Regions from separate parts of the Homo sapiens genome. Here region 1 is linked to region 2. Evidence: promoter capture Hi-C in human tissues and cell types (Jung and others, 2019). All regions are on one chromosome and are shown on one strand. The core of a region is centred on a gene start or on the middle of the fragment in contact, and the rest is flanking DNA. Distances in the headings are between cores, read along the strand shown. Region 1 overlaps NCALD (neurocalcin delta). Region 2 holds the start of UBR5 (ubiquitin protein ligase E3 component n-recognin 5).

Region 1 (7,344 bases), core at 2,505-5,004, 720 kb after region 2:
TAATGTCTGCCTTATTTCACAGCAAAAACCATGAGGGAAAGGATTAGGTCAATGTCAATACCTGGTACACATTAGTTGCTTATACATATTTGATGAATGACTGAGTGAGTGGATGGATGAAGAGGCAGTCACCTAAGAGCAGGGATTTCCATGACCTGGGGTCTATGGATCAGCTTCTAAATACCCAAACCTCTGAGATCGTCTGCAATGGTGGGTGGGTTTGCATGGTTTCTAAGGGAAAAGCTCAAATCTTTTGACAGATTAAGTCTTTAAGGGGTTTCACATGAATATGTTTAATTATGTGAAGAGAGAGAGAAGAAAAAGAAAAGAGGAAACTAAAAAAAACATATAAAAGGATAAAGGGGAACTTTATAAATTGGAGCAGTGCAGAATAAAGGTGAGAGAGGGAAAGAATGAGAGGGCAACTGGGGGACAGTTATTCCTGAATAAATTCTTTAAACTAAGTGAAGTTGACTGTATTCAAGACCCTATGTTAGGTACTATCAGGGATTCAAAAAATAGATGTGACTGCTACCCTCACATCTAAAAGGAGAACATTCTGGGTGTGAATTCAAGGTAAATGGAAGGAAGTGATATGAGAGAGGTTGGGTTGGAGCCCCTTGCTAGCACAGAGGGAGGGAGATTGCACATAGCAATAGAAGAAGGGAAGATGATGGAAGGCTTCCTGGAGGAGGGTAACATTTTGATCTGCTCTTAACACATGGGTAAGAGTCCAAGGAGGAGGGGAGATGGGGTAGGTGAGCACTCAGGTGAGAGAAGAATATAAACAAAGCTGCTGGTCCAGGACACCAAGGAGCGTATCATGTTGTCAGACTCTTGACAACAGCCTTTGTGGAGCATCTGAGCTGGGAGACACCTCCTATGGCCAGTCACAGGCACAAAGCCAGTGGCATCTAGAAGGACCACGTGAGACAAACTTACTGAGGCCAGAACAGACTTGGAGAAGGAACAATCCAGCCCCAAAGAAGATTGATAATGAATAAATACACAGCCCCCTTAAAACTTCTGGCAAAAATAAACTTATCCCTTGTCTGTAAGTGCTCTTCCCCGCAACACCTCTGCAACTCCTGAAACAGCTCCATGCGCTCTCCTTTAAGGAGGTTGTGCTAATGTGATCTGCAGGGATGCCAATTTCTAAATGTTGTGTTATTGTTGTCCTAAGATTCCTGGGCTTATGAATTCACCAAATATTTAGATCATATGAGCTTGAAATGTATGTGAGGGGTGTGCATGTTTTCATAGTTGGTGCCGATTCCATTTTGACTATGTCAAGAGTTACGAAAAGCTTCCACTGTGGGAGCAAAGCAAGCTGGGGAGAGGTTGCTAGACCTCAAGACTTTTGCTGGTGTGAAAAGACACCTGCTGTCTACTGTTACTAAATATTCACCTGGGCGTGTTAAATCTCAGGGCCTCTCTTCTCCCATTTGCAAAAACAGCTCCATCTCTCCGGCCTTTCCTAGCTCCCCCAAGAACTTACGTGTCCCCGGCAGTGAGGCACATGGCACTACAGCCCCAGCACAGTTGGTGGAGCAGACCTGGGCTGGGATGACAGCAGGCAGGGGACCATGATGAGGAGGGCAGACGATGGCTCCCCTCTTGTCTCCAGAGCACACTTCAGTGAGCATTTCTTGGGAATGAAATGGCTCAGCTTACCCCAGGGACACCCATAATCCTAGACAGCACCCTAACTCTGCGCTTTACCTCCCAGACCAAGTCGCTGCAGAGTCAGCTATGGAGTTCAGTAAGCACATTGGGTGGGTTTGAGACAGACTCAGGGAGCCTGTCCAGAAGCATCCCTGAGGGATGGGATCAGCCTAAGGGCCAGCACACTGGGTGAGTCTGTTTTCATTCTTATTTTGACTGAGATTAGAGTACTTACCCTACCTTATCCAGAACATGTTAGGAACTTCTGGCAGGGTTGGTCCTGAGCAAGACTGTAAAGCAGCTCAGGTGAAGCTTCAGTGTCTTTTTCTGCTCTCACCTTTCCCATTTGGAGGCGACTCCCCTCAGCTGCTTTCCTTTCTCTGTCCTCTGCACCTGCCTTGCTGCCCCTAGAGCTCCAGAACTCTCTGAAATTTTCTGCCTACTCCCTGGCAAAATCTATTTTTTCTAAAAATTGTCCCCAGGGCCAAGATGCCCAAAGTGACTCTGATTAGCAAAGTCATGATCTGGGGATAAAAACAATGACTTTTCATTCCTCTTCCCAAATAAAAACTACCTTTGACCACAGAGGTCAAAGGGCCCTTACTGAGTCCCATGTGGAGGTCACAGGCATGGGGTGATAGTTTCAGTAGTGCTTACAAAACTCCACAGAATCCTCTTTCGCCCATCAGATCTCATAGCTGTACCCAGTTTAGCTCAGGCCTGAGGATGCATAATAATTCAGAGCTCTGATGGCAGGTGGTTTCCATCTCAGGACTGCCTGGAAGCTTGCTGAGAAGGAACTTGAGACCATTGTCACACACAGGGAGAAAAGCACTGGAATGGACTAGAAGTCTGCCTGGGGAAACATGTGGCATGCACTTACAGAGTGTTACATGTCTGTCATCCTTGAGGAGTCATTGTGGACTCTCAAGGGTCCATGATAGGCATCCACTTGCCTCTCTAGCCTGAAGAATGTCATCTGCAGCCTTGCTCCTCAAAGTGGGAACCTTGCTTTTCAAAGCAGCGTCTTCAGAACAGCAGCATCAGCATCACACCGGAGCTTATTAAAAATACAGACTCTCAGCCCCACCCCTTTCCCCCACACTACCCAATCAGATTCTGCATTTTAACAAGATTCCCAGGGGATTTGTATGCACATAAACAATGGAGACGGCTAGGAGAGGTGGCGCATGTCTGTAATCCCAGCACTTTGGGAGGCTGAGGGAGGAGAAGCTTGAGCCCAGGAGTTCGAGACCAGCTTGGGCAACATAATGAGACCTTGTCTGTACAGAAAAAAAAAAAAAAAAAAAAAAAAAAAAAAAAACGCCCTGTGTGGTGGGGAGTACCTCTAGTCCCAGCTGCTGCTCAGGAGACTGAGGTGGGAGGATTGCTTGAGCCTATGAAATGGAGCCTGCAGTGAGCCGTAAGCGTGCCACTACACTCCAGCCTGGGTGACAGAATGAGACCCTGTCTCAAAAAACAATCAAAAAACATTGGAGACACAGGGGTCTACTGGGTCTTCCTGCTGGTTGTCCCTCCTGAAGGTCCTCACTGGAGGAGAACAAGCTTTGTGGGCCCGGCTTCTTCTACCTGTGCCTCCACATCTTATACCAATCAATAGGGGTAGGACTAGGTCCAATGCGGATGGGGACATTCCCTTCAGCCCGCATTTGGGAGGTTTAATGATAGGTCTATTGTGTGCCATACTGTTTTTCTGTCTTACCACCATGTCGCTTCTGTCCCCAGGCAATCTATAAGATGGTTTCCTCTGTAATGAAAATGCCTGAAGATGAGTCAACCCCAGAGAAAAGAACAGAAAAGATCTTCCGCCAGATGGACACCAATAGAGACGGTAGGAGGCGGGGGCTACACTGCTTTGCTCAGATGGGGGCTGCTGGAAGGACTGGAGAGTCCAGACTGGGAAGTGCCACTCGAGGCCCTTCAATGTGAGCGGCTCATCCTCCAAGCCTCCTGGGTGGGTAGGAGGGGAGAGGACCAGGTGGCCACAGGAGAGCTGAGCCCAGAATTGGGGGAAATGCCTTATTTCTAGTTTTTTCTATCCTCCTTGTAGGTCAACTTCTACCTCCAAGAAAACAGAATGGATCTTGTGGGGCAAGAATGAAAGGAACCAAGAAACCATTGTTAGCACAGACCCATCCTTGGGACAGGCCTAGGCTATAGCAGGCTGGGTCCCTGCAGTCCAGTTCATCAAAATGGGGAGAGGGTTGTTATTCTGTGATCCTACCCAGATGCCGACAGCTTTCACTCCAGCCTGCCAAAGGGGTTTTGTTGGGGTCTCCTGTGCATGCACTGAGATGTTGTGTTTCCCAGAGACAGTGGGCTCCCATAGTCACTGGGGTGCCCGGGGTAGTGGTGAGGGAGTAAGGTGCCCAGCAGGTTCCCACCCTGATGGTGCTACCCACAATTCAAACCCAACGAAGTGAAAAAGAAGGTTGCATTTCCAACTTAAGAACAGAAGGATTTTAGATCTTAAATTGCCAGATAGAATACAGGAGGCCCAATTATCCTGGAATTTCAGATAAACAGCAACAGTTGTTAGGATTAGCCTAACAATTGTTTAGCCAACTAAAAAAGTCACTTGCTGTTTATCTGAAATTCAAAGTTAACGGGGCATCATGTATTTAATTTGCCAGATCTGGCAACCCTATTTAAATGTTATACTTGAGTTTAAAGAGCTCAGCTCAGGGCCCGGCTCTGTAGCTCTTGCTGTTATTATCAGCTCACCCGATCTGTTCAGAGGCCTCGGCAATTCTTGTCAACCATGTGCACAGGCACTTGGGTCCCCCACCTGGCGCTGATCTATAGAACAGCAGAAGGCGGCTTCGCAGTACAGAGAGCCTCTGTCTCCTTTTATCCCCCGCCCAGGTACAGCTGCCTAAGAATCTGGGTTTGTGTGGTATGGGCCTGTCTGCTTGCTTGTTTCCTCCACAAAGGTGCCATTCCATTTGGAAACATCCTATGTCCCCTTATTTGCTTTGATTCACAATGAATAGTTGTGACTAAACAAGCACGGGATTATTTTAATAGTTAATTAACTTGCTGATGTTAAACTGCAGGTTTTACTGGTACTCAAGGGAGCACAATGGGTTTGTGCTGTGCTCTAGGTCCAGACAGCTCTTCAGGATAGGGCTGAAGGATGGGAGAAGATCAGATGTCACAGGATAAAGCCCTAAAGCCCTAACTGTGTGTTGATCACAGGCAATGAATTAGGGTCTTTCCACTGGGACTCTGCTGCTATGGGATTGCAGAGCCCTGACTGAGTTAGCATTCTCAGAGCACAACTTACTGCTAAAGACCTGTGCCTTTCCAAAGGAAAACCTCATGTTTAAAATTAAATTAAATTTTCAAAGGTTAGGGTTGGGAGAGGGGGGTGGGAGCTGTAGAAGGAAGGAGGAAGAGGGGCTGTAAGTTCACAGCTGTCAGAGGAATCTTAGCTCAACCAGGAGACTGGGTGCTTCAGCTCAGTGCTTGGCTGCTGGACCCCAGGATTGAGGACACCTGCACCCCTCCCTGCCGAGAGCAGAGCAGTCCTCACCTAGAGTCTCCTACCCTTAGATTTAGCTTGCCTGTTGCTCTTGGAATCTAACTTCTGGCCTCCGATTTGAAAAGAAAAATCTGGGCCCTCAGGCAAGTTCTCCTAGGAGCCAACTCTGAATCATGCAGACAGTTAAGTGAAGAAAGCCAGACGTCATGCCGAGCTCCAGGTCTGCCCCTGCTACCTCCAGCTGGTGCCTCCCAGAGCCGACCCCTGAGAGACTGCAAAGTGTTCAGAGATCACGCCTGTCTCCCTTCCCTCATGCCTTGCCAAGCTGGAGGAAGTCATTACCATTGTAACTACTATGTGGGCAGGGCTGGGCTCATAAAAAATGGCCAGCACACAGAGCTTGGAGGGGATCAGCTCTACAAATTAAAAATAAATTAATAAATGCATCCCTATCTTTTTCCTTCATGGAGATAAAGTGGGTTTCATTAAACAAGAACTAGGTTCTGGCGGGGAGGGAGTTGTGGCTGAGGAGAAGATATGTTTGTTGGTGTTTCTGTTGGGGGAGGCCCCCTCCTGTCAGGTTTGGAGTAAGTTGAGAAATAAAAGAGGACAGAGGTCAAAAGATAGATACTGGAGGCTATGGCTTAGCGTGAGAGTCCAAGGACGTGCTGAAAAACCCACAGGCGTGCAGAGCCAGGCAGGCCGGGTGCTGCCCTTGGAGGAGCAGATGGAAATAAATCCTCTCTGGGGCAGCTCCTTTCAAGAGAAAAAGGGAGGGCAAAGCTGGGCGGAGATGCCCAGCAATTCCTCCCAAATTTACCAATCGAGCATGTCACTTCACTCCCAGGGGCGGGGTAGACAAAGAGGAAGGGTCCTTCTGGAAGCACCAGGAATGGGAAAAGCCTTGCAGTCCCCCAACTCCTACCCCACCCCCTCCCCTCCTCTCCACAAGTGACAGGCCTTCCTGGAAGAGAATTCTGTACGTGCTCCAGAGTAAGCAGAAAGGAAAGGTCACCGGGGTCGGAGTGGGAGCCCAGGCTGCTGAGCCTCCCTCCTCCAGCACATCAGGGTAGCAGGAGAGCACCCTAACTGAGAGGCAGAAACCCATGGGTTACCCTCTGCCTTGAACATACCCTGCTCTTCCCTGACCTCAGATGGAGGCACAGCTGTCTTCCCGTGGTGTATGAACAAACACTTACGTCCACGGCTTCTTCCCCAAGATAGGATGGGCTCTTGCAGCAAACCTAAGAACACAGAGTGGCCTGAAGAACACGAAGTGGCTCAGAAGGCTCCAGGGAACATTATGGGAACCAACCGGGTGCTGCCAGGGCCCAGCTCATTCTCATAAATGCAGGAGGGCCACTTGCTTTACAAATGCTGAGTGAGCCTCTCCAGGGCGCCTGGAGCCAGGAGGTCAGGGACCAAGTCAGCATCATCCACCACCCTCTCCCCAGTCCCGGGCCCAGGGCCGGGCACACAGTGGGCTCTCAGGCAGCGGCGTTTGATTGCCACATGTACTGTCCTAAGTGCTGGCAATGCCATGGTGAATGAGGCAGCAGTGTTCCTGGAGATTCCACTGGGCTCTTCCCCGGGACAGGTGAGTGCTGTGTGTCACAGTGGCAGTGAGGCTGCAGGCAGGTGAATCGACACTGCCCAGCACGCAGTAGTGGGAAGGGTGTAAGCTCATGCAGCTGCCACCAGCCACCACTCACCTGTCCTCTTGCTTCCTAGGAAAACTCTCCCTGGAAGAGTTCATCCGAGGAGCCAAAAGCGACCCGTCCATTGTGCGCCTCCTGCAGTGCGACCCGAGCAGTGCCGGCCAGTTCTGAGCCCTGCGCCCACCAATCGAATTGTAGAGCTGCTTGTGTTCCCTTTTGATTCTTCTTTTTAACAATTTTTTTTTTTTTTTGCCAAACAATATCAATGGTGATGCCGTCCCCTGTGCGGTCTGATGCGCCTTCCTCCGTGACGCCTTCAGCTTCTTTTGTCGTGGATGCTTCGTGGGAATGCCCAGAGCCCCAGTGTGCTTGTGGAGAGCATGGACAGACTTCGTGGTGTTCATTGTTTGATGATTTTTAATCGTTACTATTATTTTTTTTTATTCTAATGTCTCTGTTCTAAAACGTAAGACTCGGGGGTTGGGGCAAAAGAAGGGAAACCCATCCAGTCCTGTG
Region 2 (6,475 bases), core at 862-3,361:
CTGTAATCCCAACACTTTGGGAGGCCGAGGTGGGTGGATCACCTGAGGTCAGGAGTTCGAGACCAACCTGGCCAACATGGTGAAACCTTGTCTCTACTAAAAATACAAAAATTACCCAGGCATGGTGGCAGCGCCTGTAATCCCAGCTACTCGGGAGGCTGAGGCAGGAGAATCACTTGAACCCAGGAGGCGGAGGTGGCAGTGAGCCAAGATCGTGCCATTGCACTCCAGCCTGGGCGACAGAGCAAAGACTCCGTCTCAAAAAAAAAAAATTTTTTTTAGATCTGTTTGGCTTGAAATCTAGCAGTGTCTACTGGTCTACCTTCCTTCCTCAGGGCTCCCAGGGACATCTAATAGTGACCTTGAAATCACTTTTTAGTCTAAACTAATCTGGGCCAATGGTTGAGCTGGTAACCTACAAAAGTGTTCCATTATCTGCCTTGAGGGTACCAGGTCTGTCCTGATTTGTAAGTATTTTTTCATAAATTTTGCTCAGAAGAACTTCCTAAGCAAAACTGTGTGTGTGTGTGTGTAATTCATTAACAGACCACCTCTGTAGAAGGAATGTCATGTTCTCAGTTTTTGCCTTCGAAGAGGTACTTTATTTTTTAAAGGAGGTCATAGAAACCTTTGAGAAGAAAGTCATGAATTGGTTCCTTAGGGAAAAAAAAACAGACTTATTTGATTAAAAAAAATTTTTTTTTGAGATGGAGTCTCGTTCTGTTGCCCGGGCTGGAGTGCAGTGGCATGATCTCAGCTCACTGCAACTTGCCAGGTTCAAGCAAGTCTTCTGCCTCAGCTTCCTGAGTAGTGGGGTTTACAGGCGCGCACAGCCATGCCTGGCTAATTTTTGCATTTTTAGTAGAGATGGGGTTTCACCAAGTTGGCTAGGCTGGTCTCGAACTCCCAACCTCAGGTGATCCGACATCCTCGGCCTTCCAAAGTGCTGGGATTACAGGCGTGAGCCACTGTGCGCCGTGGCCAAAACTCTGAAAGTGTCTTATAGTAGAAACTCGGTATAAAAGATCCTATCTCGGCCAGGCGTGGTGGCTCAGGCCTGTAATCCCAGCACTTTGGGAGGCCGAGGCGGGTGGATCACCTGAGGTCAGGAGTTCGAGACCAGCCTGGCCAACATGGTGAAACCACATCTCTACTAAAAAAGAAATACAAAATTAGCCGGACGTGGTGACACATGCCTGTAATCCCAGCTACTCCATAGACTGAGACAGGAAAATCGCTTGAACCCGGGAGGCGGAGGTTGAGGTGAGCCGAGACCGCGCCATTGCACTCCAGCCTGGGCAACAAGAGCGAAACTCCGTCTCGGGGAAAAAAAAAAAAAAAATAATAATTTTCCGTTCTGATTCCACTGATCATAAATTGAACTCCTTTGTAGAACAGGTTTATCATCTTTCATTTAAAAGTAATAAAAAATCACGAATCATTTATATCAGGAAATTAGTGGAAATTTCCACATTTTGTCTTTGGGCATGTGATGGTGGTGAGGAAACTGGGGAGACCGAGGTAATAGAAGTTGCTGCAAAGCCAACTCCAGGATCCTACTATCTCCTTCTGGAAAGGCCCTTACATAATTTCCTTACTTTTCCAATAAAAGGCTGTATATGTCTTGCCCCTTAACTGATTTTACCAACTTCACCATAAATACAACTGCGGATGAAGGATGAGAAGCAACAAGAAACCCCTAAGGATCCGCCAAATAATTAGGGCTGCCCCAGGGGAATCCGAGCGAAAGAACACAAGAGCCCCTCTTCCTCCTCGCCTCCTCTGGGACACACACTTACCCTCCCTCCCGGCAGGTTAGCCCGCAGCCTCCTCCTTCCCTAACACGTGCTCTCCGGAACACTCACTCTGGAGACATCCCACCCCCGGCGGGGCTGGGCTCGGGAGCCGAACGGACCAATCGGCACGCGCCTTACAGCGTCGTGGCCCGACAACGTTGAGCAGCCCAATCGAGGGGGCCTTGCCGCCCGTTTCCCGGAGCCCCGCCTCTCGCCGCCGCGCCCCCGCCCGCCGGTCTCCTCCCTCCTCCTCCTCCCGTTTGCCCCTCCCCCGCCGCTCCGGAGCGGAGCCTGCGAGACGGAGAAACTGGGGCAGAAGTGAAGATGGCGGCGGCAGCTTCTCGCTAGTGACGCGCGGTGCGGGCTCATCTCCTTCCCCTCCTTCCTCACCTCCCCTAGTCCGGACCCCGTCCGCCGCCGGGACCAGACCGTCCCCGTAGCCCGCAGCCAGCAGCCGCCCCTCTCCTCCCCCGGCCGCCCCTCTCCCAACGCCCGTCTGCCGCTGGCCGGCGGCGCGCCCCTGGTCCCGGCCGCCTGCCTCGCACTCCGCGCTGTCGCCGGGGGAGCGGGTGGCGTGTGGATTCGCCCTCCTGCCCGCCCCTCCGGGCCGCGGACACACGCCCGGCAGGGAGGCGGCGGCGGCCCCTGCGTATTTGCTTCCCTCCATTTGGGGACTGGGAGGCGGCGGCGGCTGTGGGTTTTGGGGAGGGGTAGAGGGCTGGGGGGCGGGCGAGAGCGGGAGGGGGCCGCCCTCGAGTGGAGGACGAGAAGGAAAGCACCATGACGTCCATCCATTTCGTGGTTCACCCGCTGCCGGGCACCGAGGACCAGCTCAATGACAGGTAATAGGGCTGGCGGGTCGGCGGGCGCGGGGGGAGGGGCGCCCTTCCCTCCCTCCCCTCCCCCACGGGCCGTGCCGGGCGGGTGCGGGTGTTTACGCGCCGGCCGGCCAGCTGGGGTGGGGTGCGGGGGTCCTTACTGCCTCCTGCTAGGCTCCTTCCGGGGCAAACTTCTCATCCCGGGGGCAGGGGGCCGCGGGGGGAGCGCGGTGTAGACGGGACTCGCGGTGTAGACTGGAGAGCGCTCTGTAAACCCCCTTCCCCCTCCCGCAAGGAGCGGCGTTGAACTCGGCGGAGATGGGGGGGTGGTTTCTGGCTCCCGGGGGGCAGGCGGTAATTACTGCCCGGCCAAGGCCCGAGGAATCCATATTAGTCAAAGTTGAATTGAGACAGACAATGCGGATGGGGGATGGTGGAGGTAAAAAGAGAGGGAAGAGGAGAAGCGGGGCCAGGGGCCCCGGGGTGGGCTGGGCTGGGCTTGTCCCGGGCCCCCGGCAGCTGTGTCCGGTGGGGTGGTCTGGACCTGGGGATCCCGGGGTCGGGTTGGGGAGAGAAGCCGATTCCCGGCAGATTGCTGGGAGCGGGCGGGGGGTGGGGGGAAGGTGATAGTTGGGGGAGGGAGTGAGGGAGGAAGCGCCATGATTATTGTTATTATTATTAAATTTGAGCCCCTGCAGTGAGGTTTGCCTGCCCCGGGAGGGGATGGATTCAAGCGGGGGTGGGGAAGTGCATTGGATTCCCTTTACTCTCCTCCTGAAATGGTGCTGGCAGCTCCTGCTACTAGCCCCTGTGGTGCGAGCTTTTTTGTTTCCTTTTCTATTCTAATGATAGTGTTTTCCTGAGTTGTAATTTGACAGCTGAAAACCGTGCGTAGAGTGTCAAAGGAAAACTCTTACGTTTGCAGTTCGCAATGCTGCTTTTCTTAACACGCTGTAAATTTCTGGGTTGGGTTTGCTATGGGCGGAGGATGAATTATGATTTTATTTTATGTTTTGTCTTTTATAGGCTGTTTTGGTTTGGATTTCTCCTTTTCTTCCGCCACCGTTCCTTGCCAGTTTAGGATATTGAATTGCAGTGCCGCATGCTCTCAGGGAACTGAGATAAGGCAGGAAAAGTTCCTTCACTGTTGGAAAACAGACTCAGGAGGTTGAGGGAGGCCTCCATTAAAGCATGTCTTAGAATCTAAGACTCAGATCTAATGATGGGCTAAATGTTTACAGGATCACAAAGTGGAGCATTTTAAGTCTTCCTCTCTCCCAGTACTTCACTGCTCTCTACATTTCTTTTGCGTATAGAAGGCCATCTGGTCCCAAGTTTAGAAGTTACATAGAATTTTTGCTAAGTGACCGGGTGACTTAAGTTGCATGATGCCCTGTTTGTCATGCGCTTCCCAGAGGGAGGAAGAGGCCTAACTTGCTGCTGAGATACTGGCCTCTTGTGTCAGTGTATCTAACCGCCTCAAGTGGAGCAGACAGCTTTTAAATCCAGAGCTGGCGGTTTAGTTTCTGCACTTGGTTCGGATTTGCCTAATCTTTGCTGTAGCCATATTGTATTTAACATGTTTGGGAATCTTTTGAAATACTTACTGAAAATACTAACTACTCAGAGTTGTCACATAGTTCCTTTAAATTCTGAAATAACTTTTTAGTTATTTAACATTTTGTTATGTGGTTCTTAGCCTGACTTTACTTCATTAAAGATCTTTTGGAGACATTAACATAAAATTTTTTGGTAAAATTTAGAAACAGGCTAGTAGTGAGGATAGCTCTACGGTCATTAACAGAACCATGTTGGTAGTGCTTGTCTTGTTACTTAGAAAACCGCACCAGAGAGAAGAGAGGTAGGGCATGTTTTCTATATTAGTCCTAACTTTATGTACCAAGAAACCTGACTAGCTTACTCAGTTGGCTGTGCATGCCAAAACCTATTTTGCGGTTGTGTTGGGCACTTTGATTCATTTTTGAGCATTCCTTTTGCTTCAGCTATTTGAGAAATTTACAAGTAATGTATCTTTTTAAATGCTAACTCTTCTTTTTCCATTCCTAGTATAAACAATCAGCTTTGTTTGATTCTTCTATCATTATACAACATTAAAAATATTTAGATCATAGTGACTTTTAATTTCATGAAATTAGGAAAAAAGTAGACTTGAGTCATAACATGTGCATCAAGGTGGCAGATATTTGAAAAATAGAAAGGTGCCGTAGGTGAAATTATAAAGAGCTATATGGTTGTATCTAGTAGCGGTAAACATGTCTTGCCTTTTGAGATTTGTGAAGGCAGCATTTAAGATAGGCACATATCCTAAGTTTTGAAGTAGCTGATTTGTGGCAGGAGCTGTTCTGTGTTTCCCTTTCAAAAGGAGGGCTCCTTTTTGCATACCTACTTGTAATAGGATCAACCTGTCACTTGAGAAAAATCTGTTTCCAAAAGAGACTGGTTTTCTGGAACCTTTTAATTAACTAGAATAAGCGTATTTTCATCTAAAGATAAAAACTTTACCAAGTTTTAGTAAGTTGGGGCAATAAAAAAGCTACTGCTACTGTAGCTTGACTTTTTTTATTATGAGAAATGTATGAGAGTCACAAATAAAATGATAATCATAGTTATGTATGAAAAGGGTGTAAATAGACTTTATACTTTGGAATAAAAGTAGTAAGATTAGACAGGCAGAATGGTACTGCAAATAAATTGCTCAGCTGAAGAAAACTTGGTCCTCAAAACAGTAGTGTTTTCTTCAAATACGTTTTCTTTCTTTACCCACATCCTCTTAAAAAGTCAAATATTTTGTTCAGCATCATAGTCTGATGTCTCAAGTGTCTAAAATGTACAAAGCATAAAAAAGTATCTTTTTTTCATAATTTGTGTTTTCAGACTTGCCAATAATGAATAATAATGATGCCAGGATGAAATTGACAAATACAGGTGGGGATGGCTGGGGTGGAAAGAAGAGGATGTTGGCTGTGACTTCCCAGAATGATTACAAGGTGCCTGGCACAGAATGCTGGGCCCTCAAGCAAATATTCATTGAGCTGAATTGAAACCATTCAGTGCTCAGATACTTTGGACATTTTGATCTCCTTTCCAATGGATTTCTTGAGTTAGTACTACGTTCCTGCTTAAAACATTGTCTCAGAGAAACAGTAAAACAATATAAAGAATGTGGTTCGTCGAGCTTGAGGGGAGAGCTGAAAGGCCTGCCTCACTAATAGCCTGGAAAGTGCCTCACTAATGAGCTGAAAAAATAGGCACAGAGATTTACAGTGTTTATGCAGGGATACAACTACTGAGAGACAGCTGAGGTCCACCTGATGGGTCTTCTGACTTTTCTTTAAAGTCCAGGGCTCCATTCCACTTCACGTGGCTTGTATTCCAGAATGGTTCTGCTGTCTCAGACATCCCAGCCTTCAGGCAGTGTGGCCACCTGTCTTAGTGTTTTGATTCCGTTTTCCCCTCAACTGCTCTTTCCAGGGCTCCTAATGGGTTTATGCCTTTTTTTCAGAGGCTGACGCTCTTAACCTTTTCTTGGTACTAGGTTAGGATAGGTCTTCTTAAGGTGATGTGGTTATGGCATTTATTGTCCTTGTCCTGAATTATTCCTCAAGATGCAGGTTAGTTACGAAACAAACCAGTTCTTATTGCTTGTCTGTATGTGGAATTTTCCTGTGAGATTTGCCTTTTGGCATTACAACGTATTGTGCAGTCATAAACAGTCTTTATTGAGATTGTCATATCAAAAGGATTTTTCTCTAAGCTTAGAGTTTCCCTTTCAGGTGTCATAACACAAGGTAAGATACTATAGACAGGAGTTTCAAACTCTGCGCTGGTAGCCTAGTCATT

The links. The method cuts DNA at HindIII sites, captures the fragments that hold promoters and counts their contacts. A contact is called where the count stands out against the background at its distance.
Region 1: a contact is called between a fragment that was not itself captured here and the fragment with the promoter of UBR5 in region 2, in 1 of the 25 tissues and cell types used here (dorsolateral prefrontal cortex).

What each region holds. Positions count from the first base shown.
Region 1 is chr8:101,688,964-101,696,307 of GRCh38, reverse strand. NCALD (neurocalcin delta) reads left to right here. Exons shown (of 4, transcript NM_032041.3): 3 at 3,412-3,517; 4 at 6,902-7,344. The coding sequence ends at 6,999. Among named protein-coding and RNA genes, the nearest start is that of NCALD, 98 kb to the left of the region's middle. The HindIII fragment of the contact is 3,080 bases long and covers 2,215-5,294 here.
Region 2 is chr8:102,408,336-102,414,810 of GRCh38, reverse strand. It overlaps UBR5 (ubiquitin protein ligase E3 component n-recognin 5), which reads left to right and starts at 2,111. Exons shown (of 59, transcript NM_015902.6): 1 at 2,111-2,638. The coding sequence starts at 2,577. It overlaps LOC105375683 (a long non-coding RNA gene), which reads right to left and starts at 2,472. Exons shown (of 5, transcript NR_168428.1): 1 at 1,800-2,472. RefSeq lists enhancers at 697-746, 847-956, 1,518-1,787, 2,162-2,940, 2,941-3,719 and 2 more and silencers at 1,938-2,137, 2,168-2,247, 2,308-2,747. The HindIII fragment of the contact is 18,623 bases long and covers 1-6,475 here.